3 separate regions of the Homo sapiens genome follow, and all the other regions are linked to region 1. The links are contacts of gene promoters, found by promoter capture Hi-C in blood cells and fetal thymus (Javierre and others, 2016). All regions are on one chromosome and are shown on one strand. The core of a region is centred on a gene start or on the middle of the fragment in contact, and the rest is flanking DNA. Distances in the headings are between cores, read along the strand shown.

Region 1 (4,576 bases), core at 560-3,059:
TTTTAACTAAGCGATGATATTTCACAATGGTCACATTTCCCCCAGAGTGAAACAACTTGAGAGAAAAAAAAAAACCTATAAAATAAGAGGGAAATCCTATTTAAGGGGAACTCAATTCACCTATGTATTCATGAAACAGACACATGCACATAAAGGCATCTTAACGTGAAAAATAAACATACAGTCCTTGCCCTCAAGCCAGGCGACAGAAAAGCTACCAACAACCAGGCTGAAACAAGACAAATGCCATCTGAAAAAACAGCTGACATTTGTTTCTATCAAAGCCATCCAGCAGATACCTCAACATCTTTCCACAGAACGTGTGCTCTTTACTAACAACCGACACACAAAGGAGGACGATCTCCAACAGAGGTGACTAGGAAAGGCTTCCTGGATGGCGTAATTTAGTGTTGGAGTCAGACCAATGAGCCGCCTTTTCACGGGTGGAGGTCCCAGATGGCCATCCCTTTAACAAAAATCAATTAACATGTAAATTATGTACTGACAAATACAACGTTTGATGGGCCCGCTGCAGTGGCTAAAGCCTGTAATCCCAACATTTTGAGAAGCTGAGGCAGGAGGCCTGCTTGAACTCAGGAGTTTTAGACCAGACTGGTCAACACAACGAGACCCCATCACTATAAAAATTAAAATGAATCTCAGCTACTCAGGAGGCTGAGGAAGCAGGGTCACTTGGGCACAGGGGACTAAGGTTGCAGTGAGCTACGATCACACCACTGCACTCCAGCCTGGACGACAAAGCAAGACCCCCATCTCTACGAAAAATTTAAAAATTAGCTGGGCATAGTAGTGCGAGCCTGTGGTCCCAGCTACTCCGGAGGCTGAGGCGGGAGGATCGCTTGCGCCCAGGAGGCCGAGGTTGCAGTGAGCCGTGATAGCACCACTGCACTCCAGCCTGGGCGACAGACTGAGAGCCTCACCTGTAAAAAATAATTTTAAAAAAGGTTCCACCTAGTGTTTTCCGTGGTGTGACTAAGAAAAGTATCTAGAAATAAAGCACAGTCAGTACCTGCTCTCAAAAAACGGCTGCCAATCTAGTTTGGAGACAGAAAAATATACCCGACTGAGAACACAGAGGAGCCTGTTTTCGGAAGAGGGGCGTCTTTGGAGACGCAAAATCCTCTCCGCGGGACGCTGACGGGCAGTCGGTAAAGGACTTCCAAGCACTGGTCAGTGACAATCGGGCGCTGGGGCTTTGCCAAGGCCCGGAGGCGGCGCGCCAAACCGGGCAATGCGGGAAGCGGGGCAGGCCCGAGTGGCCCTACTGCTGCCGTCCCTACTGATCCCTGCGCATCCGCCACAGAGCAGGGAACGGCAGAAAGGAGGAAGGAGGGGGAGTTCCGTAAATCAGGCCCTCAGGGGCTCCCAGGCCCGCACCCCTCTCAAGCCCCGGGGACCACCGCGGAGCCGCTGCTCCGGGCCGTGCGGCTCGAGGCGAACCTGCCTCAGAGCCGCCGGGCCCTCCTATCCCGAGCCGTATCTCTAGCTCCGGCCTGAGGTGGCCGGCGACTGCGTGCGCAAACACAAGATCCGCACCCCACTCCCCGCCACTGCAGCTCCGCGGCCGCGCTCAGAGTCTCCGGAACAGACCGGACTCAATGCGGACCAGGCAAGCGGAAGTGTGCCGCTTCCTTCCGGCCAGCGCAGCACGAGACGAGGCGGGGAACCGCGGGAGGAGGCGGGGCCTAGTGTTGACGAACAGCTCCCGGGGCCTATGGGCGCGGGGGCAGCCGCCCGGCCTCTCCGGCGCGCCCCCTCCCCGGGGCTGTTGACGCCCCCCAGCCCCTCATTTCCACAAAGCTCCGCGGCGGTTCTGCCCTCCTTGTACCCGCGGCGCGCTGCGGCCCGTGGCGCGGCCCCGTTCCCGCCTAGCCCCGTCGGCCTCCTTCCCCTCCCGGAGCCGCGCGTGAGGACGGCTGAGGCCGCAGGTCTGTGGCGGCGCGCCGGGACGCGCGGGCGAGGGTCTACCGAGAGGGCGGGCGGGCGCCGGCGGAACCCTCGGCTACAGCCCCGAGCCCCTGGGGCCGCCCCTCCCCGCCGCGTGGCGCAGTCGGGGGGCGCGGCCGCGGCGTCGGGGCGTCGGGAGGGGCGGAGCGCGGGAGTGTCTGCCGGGACGCGGGCCGGGCTGGGCTCCGGAAGGACCAAGTTTGCGGAGCGGCTTCTGCTCGTCGGCCGTGCGGCGAGGCAGGGCCTGGGCTGCGACCCCGGCGGCCGCTCGCGGTCTTGGGAGAGCTGGGGCGCGTGCCTGAACTTCCCGGCTGCCCCTGTCCTTGGAGACCTACCTGATGGGGACGCCAGGTGTGCAGGGGCGTGGCGCGTAGGTAAGCGGACCCGGTGCCTGCCTCGTCCAGGGGATGCTCACTAGAGCGCTAGGCTTTTTTATTTTTATTTTTTAGAGACAGGGGTCTCGCTGTCTCGCCCAGGCTGGAGTGCAGTGGCGTTATCACGGCTCACTGCAACCTCGAACTCTTGGGCTCAAGCGATTCTCCCACCTCAGCCTCTGGAGTAGCTGGGACCACAGGCATGCACCACCGAGCCTGGCTATTTTATTGTATAGATAGGGTCTCGCTCTGTTCCCCAGGCTGGTCTCAAACTCATGGTCTGAAGTCATCCTCCTGCCTCAACCTCCCAAAGCGCTGGGATTACATGAGCCGCCTCGCCCGGCTAGCGCTAGTCGTCCTTATTAATAAAGAATCGCTTCTGGTCCCTTTTCAGTTGTTTACAATGGCATTCCTTTTGATCTGATGGAGGAACTTTTTTTCTTAGTTCATGGGACTGTTGCAGTGCCTGACACATAATTGGTACTTAAATATGTGTTGGTTTTCTGCCTTAACATATTAGAATATATGAATTGTTTAAAAAAGTCCTCTCACACTTAGGGAGGACTCTAGGATGAGGTCACATGGGGGATAAGCCCATCTGTGGCTGTAGGACTTTGTTAAACACTCCTCTTCTCCCTCTCTGTTCCAGATTCTCCATTTCCAGTGCTTGAAAGCACAGTACTTAAATCTGGCTTCCTGCTTTTTTTTTTTTTTTTGGTATGAATGAATACATGAATTGTATAATGTTAGTTGGTTTGTTCTGTAGAGCAAGTTACCCTTAGGAATTAATAAACTGTGGAAACAATCATGTCAGGCTACTAGTCACATTTAAGAAATAATTAGTAAGAGGCTGTTCATTATTCAGAGGAGTGAAGCAAGATGTTCTGGAGGACTGGAACCCGCTTACTCACTGCCACCACTCCCCCGCCTCCCACTTGCTGCTGCCAAACCAGGCTCCTGCTCCCCCCCACCCATTACTCCCACCGACGCTCCCTGGGATAGCAGCTGCCCTGATTGGCACACCCCCGCAGTCATCACCACTGAGGCGTATTCCTGAAGCTGCCAGTGTGAATTGTTTTATAGAACACTGGTGTTAAAATTCAGGTACCTGAGACAAAACAATATTTTAATTCTTCAAAATCCGGTTGTCAACACATTTACTATGGAGTATCTCCCACGTGGCCACTTCTGTGGGAGGTACTGAAGACCTACTACCGCCTATGGAAGTAGAAAATAATATACAACTGTGTAGTTACGTGACGCATTGCGTGGTAACTGCTATGGCTCAGGGAGGGAGAAGATCAGCCGGAACTGGAATGTCCCAAGATGTTCTGGAAGAAAAGCAGTGGCTCGTTTGTGTTGCTTACCTGTATTCCTGACTCCTGGCAGGGCCTGCTGTAGAGCACATGCTTCATGAATAAATATGATTGAGTTGAATAAATATTTGAATTGTGTTTTGAGTGTAGCTTTGAAGGCCAGCAACGATTTAGATGGCAAGATCGAGGGCAGGCTGGGCACAATGGCTCATTCATGTAATCCTAGCACTTTGGGAGTCCAAGGCGGGGAGGATCGCATGAGGCCAGGAGTTCAGTACCAGCCTGGGCAAGATAGGGAGACCCCATCTTTACAAAAAATAATTAGCCAGGTGTAGTAGCACATGCCTGTAGTCCAGATACTCGGGAGGCTGAGGTGGATCACCTGAGCCTGTGGAAGTAGAGGCTACAGTGAGCCGTGATGGTGCCGCTGCACTCCAGCCTGAGTGACAGTGAGACCCTGTCTTGGGGGGAAGAAAAAAAAAGGGAGGGCATGCTAATAGAGGGAAAATGGCATAAGTAAAGGCATTTCAGCATGGATGAGCACGGGGTGTGTTGGGGAGAAGGCACTGACGTTGATGGCCTGTTTATTGCTATCTAGGAGTGATTTGGAGAACAATGCATGTAAGTCTGACATCATGATGTCCATCCGGCAAAGAAGAGAAATAAGAGCCACAGAAGTTTCTGAAGACTTTCCAGCCCAAGAAGAAAATGTGAAGTTGGAAAATAAATTGCCATCTGGTAGGTGATTTAAACTAAAGCAGCAATTTGGGTTGCTTTTATTTCTGCATATTAAAATGTCACTCTCCAATAGGATAAAAATTTGGTGGGACCTAACAATTGAAACTTGTTGTAGTACCCTGATATTCTAATTGCAATTTGATTAGATTGATTTTACAGTTATGATTTGACAAAAGATGA
Region 2 (4,576 bases), core at 1,295-3,794, 1.7 Mb before region 1:
AGGCTGTAACAGCGAGAGCACAGAGAAGGTACTCTGTCCACTCTATCAAATGGATGAATGATTGCCCATTTCATGGCCAAGAACATTCTGCTGCTCTATCCAGGCTCCTCTCCCCACCCCATTCTGCCCATCCCTAGGGCCCAGCCTCAGGCTTCCCCTGAGACTCCTCCCCTCCCCTTCTCTTTCTCATTCAATCATTCTTTCATTTTCCCGTTCACTCAATGCACGCACGTGCTTCTGCATGTGAGGCTCACCACAAGCCCTAGAGGAACAAGGATGAATGCATCATTATCCTATCTGCCAGAGGATCGCCATGGTGCAGGCCCACAGGTACCTAGGGGGTATAACTCAGCATGGGTGTTGCCCTTAGGCAAATCATCAATGACCCATGTTCAGGCTTGACATTGGGGAAGGGGTCATGTGTCCAGTCTGAAATCTGGAGGAAATTGTTAGGTGCCCGTGACATAGTTGGGGGCTTCCCAGCCAAAGGAGTAGCATGTGATGATCACTGGAAAGGTTGGCCCAGCCGGGGAGCTGAAGGGTCTGTCCTAGAGCAAATGCAGAGGGTGTGGAAGCAGTGACCAGGGACAGGCCTGGAGAGAGACTGTGGCCAGGTCACGGAGGCCTTGTCAACTCAGCAGAGATGATGGCGGCTTCATCCAAGTGACTCTGGGGCTTCAGGGGTGCAGAGCAGGAAGAACTGAGGGAGAAGGAGAAGGGGAAGCGGGGCAGGGGTGGAGGCCCCAGGTGCTGAGAGGGCACAGCCTCACTGGAGGGAGGTGGCTCTTCCTCAGTGACCAGAGGTGAGGAGGAGGCGGGCAGTCTGCAGTGACATGGGGATATGTCTAACTAGTGTTTATAGCACCTGCGCTATCTCAGGAAGCACTAGGTATAAATAGATACTCAGCAGACATTTGTTCAGTGACGAACAAACAGCCTCAACTTGGGTGGTTGCAATTTCAAAATGCATTCTTCCGACCCTGGGAGGCTGCCAAGATCCTTGCTTGGCAAGATCCCTGAGAATGTCCTTCTAGTCCTGGTACAGCTGGAAGGATCTCTGGGAGGGTCTGTGGCCATTGGACTTGAGGCATCAAGACAGGCCCATCATCTACCCAGGAGTTCTTTTCTCAGTAGGACTTTACGGAGCGTGGTCACCGCCCTGGGACCCGGCCCACTCAGCCAAGGCTATGTCACTCACTGGGGCCGTCCAGGCCTTCACTTGGGTCACCCGATTCCCATCTCAACGTTTCTTTTTCCTTGCTATAATATTTTATTCAAAACAAGATAGATTACTTGGCCAGAGAAACTGAACCCAGACAGACAGAAAATAGCTTCCCCTTTTATTCTGCAATTCAGAACTTCTTACAAATGATCTGCCAGTTGGGGTGCCCCATCCCCTGGAGGAGTCTGTGTGTGCAGAGGGGCCATAATTGTGCTGATGTTATAGAGACTTAAGTGACCACCCCAGGGCTGCCGTTGCTCAGGTGTGTTTCTGGCATTCCCAAGTTGGTACCCTTACATGCAATATTTTACATTAGAATGCATGCGTTTGAAATAGCGAATTGGTGAACATGTAAACCAGATGCTAAGAGGGCTTTGAGAGCTAGCCTGGGCACCCAATTACAAAAGGGGCATTATTTCCACAGCAAAGCATATTTCAGGGTCCATACAGCAAACAAGGTCAAATCTGAAAGATGGGGTCTGCAAACCTCCATCTTCTTTGTAGTGATGTTTTAATCCCATTCCTCTCCAATCCTAGCTCAAGAATCTGTTAGTAAGAGCATGGGGGAGAATGATGAGAAGCCTGGTTTAAAAAACAAACACATCAAATTCTCTGCTACCACTTATGAGTTCTGTGACTTTAGTCCTTTGCTTGGAATCTTCCAGAATCATACCCTAAGATAAGGATTTAGGCACAGGCAGTTTTTTGGGAGGAGGGAGAGAAGATCCCAGGAAGTACAAGGAGGGAGTGGGGGGAGCAGATGTAGGCGTGTTTTGAAGCAGGTGATCCCTGTGGGAAATGGAGTCTTATTCCTGCTGGGACCCTCCGAGGAACTATGTGGACAACCTCAAGAAAGCTGCGGTGTTTATAAGCCAGCCCCTATCCTGTCTTGGTTGAGTGTATTCCTGGGGTGTTCACCCTTTGGCCCTTTAATCCAATAAGAGCCCATGACTGGAGAACCCCCTTGGCCAGAAAGCCCCATATGCTTTGGCATATGTGGAAACAGCCTGCAGGAGATGGCCCAGGGGAATGGGTGAGGACTCCAGTGCCCCTGTCACATGAGAATCGAGCCTCTCCGAGCCTCCGTTTCCTCATCTGCACTGTCAGCTGTTCCAGCCCGCCTAGGACCCTTCCAGGGTGATCTGTATGATCTGTGTGACCTATGAGACATGAAATAGTGACAGATCTGAGCAGAAGCCAAGCACAGCGCCTGGCCCTTCAGGGGCACACATGACATCACTGTTGTTTCATCACTTTTCTGCTTGGTCTTCCTCTGCCTAGATTCCAATATGAATTTTTTCAGTTCATCTTCAAATCTCTGCTCTCCTCTCCCTGGGGGAAATCTTCATTGCTCCACGCTGGGGTCCTGAACCCACTGAAAACATTCTCTCTGTGTCTGAGAAGCTGACTCAGATTTTCCTTTTGTAGACGGGTCTCCCGCCCTGTGCCTGCCACGGGACTGGCACATACATCGCCCGCACAGCACCATGGCCCTGGCCACCCAGGCACATCTTAAATAAAAGCAATAGTAAAAGAGTCAAGCCAACCAGCCACAGCCACCCTTTTCTCCTCCTGTGGCTGAAGCCTGCAGTGCCCCTAAGCCTGCTATCTCGTCACCTCTTCCTGCCTCTGGGGCACACATCCCAACCTAACTCTCACATGCGTGCCCACCACCCCAAACCGTGCACGGACGCACGTCCCGATGTCAGGTTCCCCATGTTTATAGGTAAAATATTACTGGTGACCGACACACAGCCTTTTTCTCCTACGTTGTCATTTTATGTTAATTGAATGCTAGTGTTAATCTAATAGAGTTTAGATTTATGTTGGGTTCTGTAGCGAGTCATATTTTAATCAATACACATTCCAACATTTAGATGGACAGATGAGAAAAGCAGCTTCATCTCCGCACTTGGGTTCCATCAGCTGTCAATAATTCCCCATTTGAATCCTTCAGATGGTCAGATTTATGGGTTTGAGTATATTGCATTCATCACAGAAATTAACTTTTGGTGGAACTGATGTGAAAGCTCACATCACATCTCCAAGAGGCAGATATTGTGTTTCAGAGCTGAGGCACTCGGAAATATTATCTGAGAGGAGCAGGTTGGCGGGGTGACAGCAGGAGATGGGATAGGGGCCTGGGTGGAGAAGGCTTTCAGGGCACAGTGCTCCTTAAGGCACGTAGGCATCACTCTGTGTCCCGTAAGCAGAGCTAGGGCTGGTTCTGGGCATCCTGTGCCATGCACCCTGTGCCCAGGCTGCCCGGGGATGGAGAGGGAGTGGTTGCATAGAGTCAGGTGAAAGAGGATGCTGTTCCTGCCAGGTAAAAGACTGAAAGACTCTTCTCTTGTGGACCTTGGCTGGTCCTACTCTCAGGTTAATTTCTCAGGAAGCAGAGCCAGAGTTAAGAAATCAGGGCATCCAGGTTTACTTGACATGTGACTGATGGAGTATTGGGAAGGGAAGGAAACCAATGGAGTGTATGCCCTCAATCCAGGTGGGCAGTTGGAGTTTTGGGGAGCTCTGGGACCTGAAGAGCACTCCTCAGAGTGACCCCACCTGAGAGGTGAGGAAGCTGCCTTTGTCTGGTAAATTGCTGCCCATCGTGGGTGGAGGCCAGCTTGAGCTCTAAATATGAACTCGGAGGCACTTTCAGCTTGTCCAGCTTGCCTCTGTAGCTGGGATGTCAATAAAAGCCTCCTGTATAGTGTGTTCTTGGTTGGTATTCGAGGTAGGCAGCTTTTTGCATTTAGAGATGGGAGTCAAGTAGACAGGGCAGGACATGCTCAGAGATGGTCCTTCCAGCCATCCCCCTGTGGTCAGGGAGAATGACACCCTGCTGCTTGAACAGGTCACGTGGGCATCGGGCTGGGCTCCACTGCTTACCTGCCCGCCTTGTCAAAATCCCTTCCCCCTGAGAAACTCCTGCAGCTGAAGGTGGCTGAGAGGCTCTGTTTCCACAACTCCCAAGAGACACAGATAACAGTGCAGTGCTCCACGAGGCTCAGTTTCTCTCTCTGGCCTCATGTTCTCTGGCTTTCATTCCTGTAGCTATCTATAGGACAGTGCTTATTGATCTTGGAATCCGTTTGCCGCACCTCTAAGGAACTGGATATGCCATTTAGGCTTTGGGGGCCATTAGACACTTCCACAGAGATTTGTATCAGAAGTAGCAACCACTCGTCTCTGTTTCTGCCATGTAAACAGGCAAATGGATTTGCCCTTGAGTTTGCTGATGCAAGCGTTCAAAGTGCAATGAGCCCAGAGCTTCTACCTGATGGACCCCTCAAAGGTGTCCGTTGCTCTATGGCCAGTGAGCAGAGACAGGTGAGAAAGGACGCTGTTCCTAAC
Region 3 (4,576 bases), core at 1,418-3,917, 1.7 Mb before region 1:
CCTTAAGAGTTAAATCATGTGGATATACAGGAAGGAAATGAAATAGACGAACTTGCTCCTCTTTTCTTCCTACGGATTTTTCTTTTTGATTCTGAAGATAGAATTACTGTTTGTAAGCATCTGAAAGTCATTAGAAACCCTGCAGTCTGTCAGGTGCCGACGCAAGAAACTGCTGAAACCAAACGGGTGCCTGCACCGAGGGCTGGGAATTCATCATGTGCTGATGAGCAGTTATAATAATATATGAGCAAATCACAAGCATTCTGCAAATTAATCAAATTTTTTTCCCCTTCTCCCTTGTCTCTGGGAGAGTGGCTTTGCAGGCAGACGTAGGTGAAGCAGTTTTACTCACAGATGGTCGCTCTGGCATCAGATGGAATTTATATAACAGTAATTCTGATTCTTTGCCAAAGAGGCAGCGAACACACCAGGGAGATTGTAGAAGGCAAGTCATGTGGTTTTGCTGAGGTTGTTGTGGGAAGTTTAAGGGGGGAAATCTCAAATTTTCCTCTTTGCCTTTACTGTTTTTGCCTGAAGGGCCAGAAACGGAACGCCGTTCTGCCATGGGCGAAATCCGTCACGTCTTTTCTCGCGACTTGTGCTGAAAGAGTGCTTCGCAGCTGTTGCAACTGCTGGCGGTGACAGAGCCCCAAGACTCCGGCTCCTGGCTGGCTCCTTACAAGATTTAAAGGGGAGAGGGTTCAGAAGGTGGCCACGCTGCACACTAGGAAGAGGCAGAGCTGCCTCCTCGCACGCCCACAGCGCTTACTTACCCTTCTGCTCCCTGTGGCATTGCTAAACCTATAAGGGCTTTTCTTTTGAAGTGTTTTATTAAATGAAGAGTCTAACAACCCTCACTTTAATTACACACGGGCTCCGTTTATAATTCCTCTGGATTTATTCAAGTAGTTGAAAACGATGGTGCCTGGTGATTAAGCTGATCATCTTAGTTTAGCAGCTCCAAAACCTGGGGGGGAGAGAGAGAGAGAGAGAGAGAGAGAGTGTGTGTATACGTGTGCAGCGTGGAGGTGCTACTAGTGTGTGCTTGCACATGGTCGCTTGTCCCTATGCCTCTCCGTGCTTCGGACACCCCCCACTCATTTTAAACTTCTCTCTCCCTTGAGAAACCTCATCTCGCATGGGACAAAGGGATACATGAGCTGACCCTCTTGGGTCCACACTGGATCACACCACAAGGTGCCCTTATCCCTGCTGAAGGAAGGATGATACCAAGATGGCGTGTAGACTGCATTATGCAATACAGTCCTGATGCTGTGAGGTTTTTTTCCCCCTCCCCCTGATGTAAAGCCCTGCCCATTTGTTTTGGTTTACGTGACTACAGAGAAATAAGTGGATTAGATGGAAACTTTCACATGCTTCATTGCAGCTGGGTGCGGACATCTGTCATTCCTCAGCCATATTCTGGATTATGCCAGCAAGAGGATATGCAAAGTCTGACACCTTTGATTTTAGAGAGAGCCTTTTATAGTGGGGGGAGAGAAGAGAAGAAAGGAGGCTCATTTCCTTTGTGACTTCATAAAAAAAAAAGAAAGACACCTCTCTTCTGTGTTTTATTTTATTTATTTATGTCTGCCACGTGACATTAGTGGCGCTCCAGGATGAGGGCTGAGCATTGAAAAGTTTATGCTTCCATCTTTCCTTTTTACTTTGTAATTTTCTATTGTTCACAGTACCAATTTGTTGAATTGGGCATGATAAAAAGTAGCTATTTTAAATATATCCAGTGTGCCCATCTATATGGATATATACTGTGGGTATGGATTGCGGGTGTCTGATTCCTTTATGGGAAGAGAGATGTGCGATTCTTTCTCACACATAAACTCACATTAATACAATACAACCTCACTGAATTTTGATGGAATGTGACTGCTCCCGCGACACTGTTTTTGGTGAGCTGCTCTGCAACCCATATGGCCCCCCCAACCCACTGTAGGAAATGCACTAATGTTTTTATGAAAGATGTGTGCAGGTAGTGAATTATCCACAGATAACCTTGGATGCCAGCTTTCAGTGGATTGGATATCGATACACTTAAGGTGCTTCATGCTGGTGGTTTCATAGGTTGGCCCCTCCCCTTGTGGCTTTCCTGGTGCCATACAGAGCACAGCACACCCTTGGCACAAGCCAAGTTCCAATATTGGCCCCCCTCCCACATTTAAGTTGTACAATAAAACAGAAACTACAATTAAGGGCTGATGTGTTCATTTTAAGCGACACAATGGAAAACAGGAAGTGATTGAACCAGCAGGGACCACCCACTTGTTTATTTCACTGGGTGTGTACAAGAATGCAGTTCATCTGCTGGGTGAAAAAACACACAAAGCCTCACCCAGTCTCCCTGCCCCAACCTCAAAGAAAGTGCAATACTGGCTGTTTAGTTGAGAGTGGTACAAAGTGGAGATTGGAAAGTCCAGGGCCCACAGGCGCCTGGCTGGTGATGCCTGGGAAGTAAATGGGTGCCAGGCAGCGGGAATAAGTGGGACCCAGCTCCCCAGCGGCTGCCTCCAGGAAGATCTTGCCAGACCTCCTGACTTTGCAAGAGAAACTGGAAATCCATGTTTTAATGTGAAATATTTTTTTAAATGTAACATTGGCAATGAATTACATTTTTTTTTAAAGAAATAGTGTTGGGGGAAAAAAATATGTGGGCCTGCAGCTTGTAACCACTAGGAGGGTGAATGCATTTATGTCTACAGCAGTGATGGAATCTATGGTGCAGCCACTTGGCCCCCATGGGGGAGGCCTGTGGGCTTTTGGAGCTCACAGTCAGGGTGGGCCGTGCCATCCCAGTCCCCCACAGAAAGTGGTAAGGTGGAGGGCAAGAGTGAGGAGGGCAGGGCGTGGTTCTTGGAGATGTGATTGGGATTCTGAGCTTCAATGCAGGAAAGAGGAAAATGCAGAGCTACCCAGTATGTCAAGGTGCACCTGAGAAGCCGTTCAACACTCTCCACCAACGTGGAGAATGGGAGGAAGAGCGTAGTATTAATAGCTGAGATTGGGGTTACTAAAGGGACCCCCTGGAACACAGAGCACTCAGATTTTCCTGCTGAGGAAAACAGCAAGGCATGGTGGGGCATTCCAGGTATGAGGCACAGACCAGGTAGGGACAGTGTGCAGGGGAGGGTGCTCCAGGGTCACCTGTTAGGAGGTGTGGCCTGCACGGAGGAAGGAAGCCAAGTGCCAGGCTCTGAGCAGGGTGTGCATAGCAAGGTGGGGACTCCTGTGGGCTGAACCCCCAGAAAGAGGTCCTTCAGTAAACAACGTCTGGTTCCTTATCCAGTCCCTACTGTGTGCAGAGCCCGCCAGAGGGCAGCAGTTTCCAGCCTCCTAGAGCCATTAGCGAACAGTGCCTGACAGAACATAATTAAGTGCCTAATTGTGTGGTGCCACAGATAAGTGGAGCTCTGCAGACTGGGTCCTGAGAACCGCTTCTAGGAGGAGTTGGGGCTTTGGCGGGTCTCAATGGAAGAAGATGTGGGGGCTGGAGATGGGTGAATTTCTGGTAGGAACGACAGTGTATAGTAGGTAAGAAGGGATTGCAATTTGGAAAGCCAGGTTAAGGAGGTGAGATACTGCAGTGAGAAATAGGGAGCCATGGATGGCTATAGAGGAGGGGTGGGCACATGTATAGCCAGGATTTGGGGACTTGACTTGGTATGGATGGTGTGGCTTTCTTCTGCCTGGAGAGGTCTCACTGTTGGTCTGAGGTGGACTATTGACCCAGTGGACTTGATGGTACCCAGAAGAGGGTTTACAGGGACAGGGCTGGCTGTCACCATCTCTGCTAAATTCCGTGCATCCTTACAGCCCATCTTATTGCCAACAGGGATTTCAGATAACTGTGTTTAGCCCAATGTTCCTAAGGAGGGAAGCGAGGGATATTAAATGTGTATCATAGGTGCTGCGTCTGCTAATTTTAGACTCCTTATTTTTGCCATCTCTGAGTGTCACCCTAATAATTTCACTTAATATTTAAAAATTAATTGGTTAAAAACTTAAAAATACACAACTCTAGCTTTGTTTTAGGAATAATATCCAACTCTGATTCACTAGTTTTTGGGATTTTTGCTAAAGCTGTTAACCTGAAAAGTGGTCAGCTTGGTTCCATTTAAAATTACCTTTGAAGCCGGTTTAATAAGCACCTCTCCCCCAGCCCCCGCAATGTTGGAGAGAGAAGGGAATTTCTGGAGGAGTGAGGTGGGCCACCAGCCCCTCCGCTCCCGGCTCCCCCACTCCAGCACTTCCAGGCCAGCGCCTTCTCTTTGGTTTCTCCCGGCATTTCTTTAAAGACTAAATGCACTCACCCAGAGACAAACTCTGGGTATCATTAGAGTATTATTATATTACACATCGAAAAATCTTCAAAAACGGAATGTAAGTTCATTGACCCTTTGAAGGTTATTTAATGATAAACATAAATGCTTTCATAAAATCCGGGCAATGATTTAAGGTCCCCGATCAATAGTTGCTGTTGAGTGCACACTGGCAGGGCAGGCCGGCTTGCCTGACCACCCAGGCGGGCTGATGGCTCCACTCATCAGAGGAGCCTGGGTAA

The links. Contacts are between HindIII fragments. The CHiCAGO score rates a contact against its expected background, and 5 or more counts as called.
Region 2: a fragment that was not itself captured here is called in contact with the fragment with the promoter of DPY19L3 in region 1 in 1 of 17 cell types (endothelial precursors); the score reaches 5.9 in endothelial precursors.
Region 3: a fragment that was not itself captured here is called in contact with the fragment with the promoter of DPY19L3 in region 1 in 1 of 17 cell types (M1 macrophages); the score reaches 5.0 in M1 macrophages.

The regions. Positions count from the first base shown.
Region 1 is chr19:32,403,961-32,408,536 of GRCh38, forward strand. DPY19L3 (dpy-19 like C-mannosyltransferase 3) reads left to right here and starts at 1,810. Exons shown (of 19, transcript NM_001172774.2): 1 at 1,810-1,949; 2 at 4,257-4,396. The coding sequence starts at 4,294. DPY19L3-DT (DPY19L3 divergent transcript) reads right to left here and starts at 1,579. Exons shown (of 3, transcript NR_046201.1): 1 at 1,031-1,579. RefSeq lists silencers at 1,362-1,411, 1,442-2,191. The HindIII fragment of the contact is 5,769 bases long and covers 1-4,576 here.
Region 2 is chr19:30,670,836-30,675,411 of GRCh38, forward strand. It overlaps a transcript of ZNF536 not described here. Among named protein-coding and RNA genes, the nearest start is that of ZNF536-AS1, 2.9 kb to the left of the region's middle. The HindIII fragment of the contact is 7,406 bases long and covers 1-4,576 here.
Region 3 is chr19:30,692,049-30,696,624 of GRCh38, forward strand. It overlaps a transcript of ZNF536 not described here. Among named protein-coding and RNA genes, the nearest start is that of ZNF536-AS1, 24 kb to the left of the region's middle. RefSeq lists enhancers at 1-577, 578-1,200. The HindIII fragment of the contact is 9,269 bases long and covers 1-4,576 here.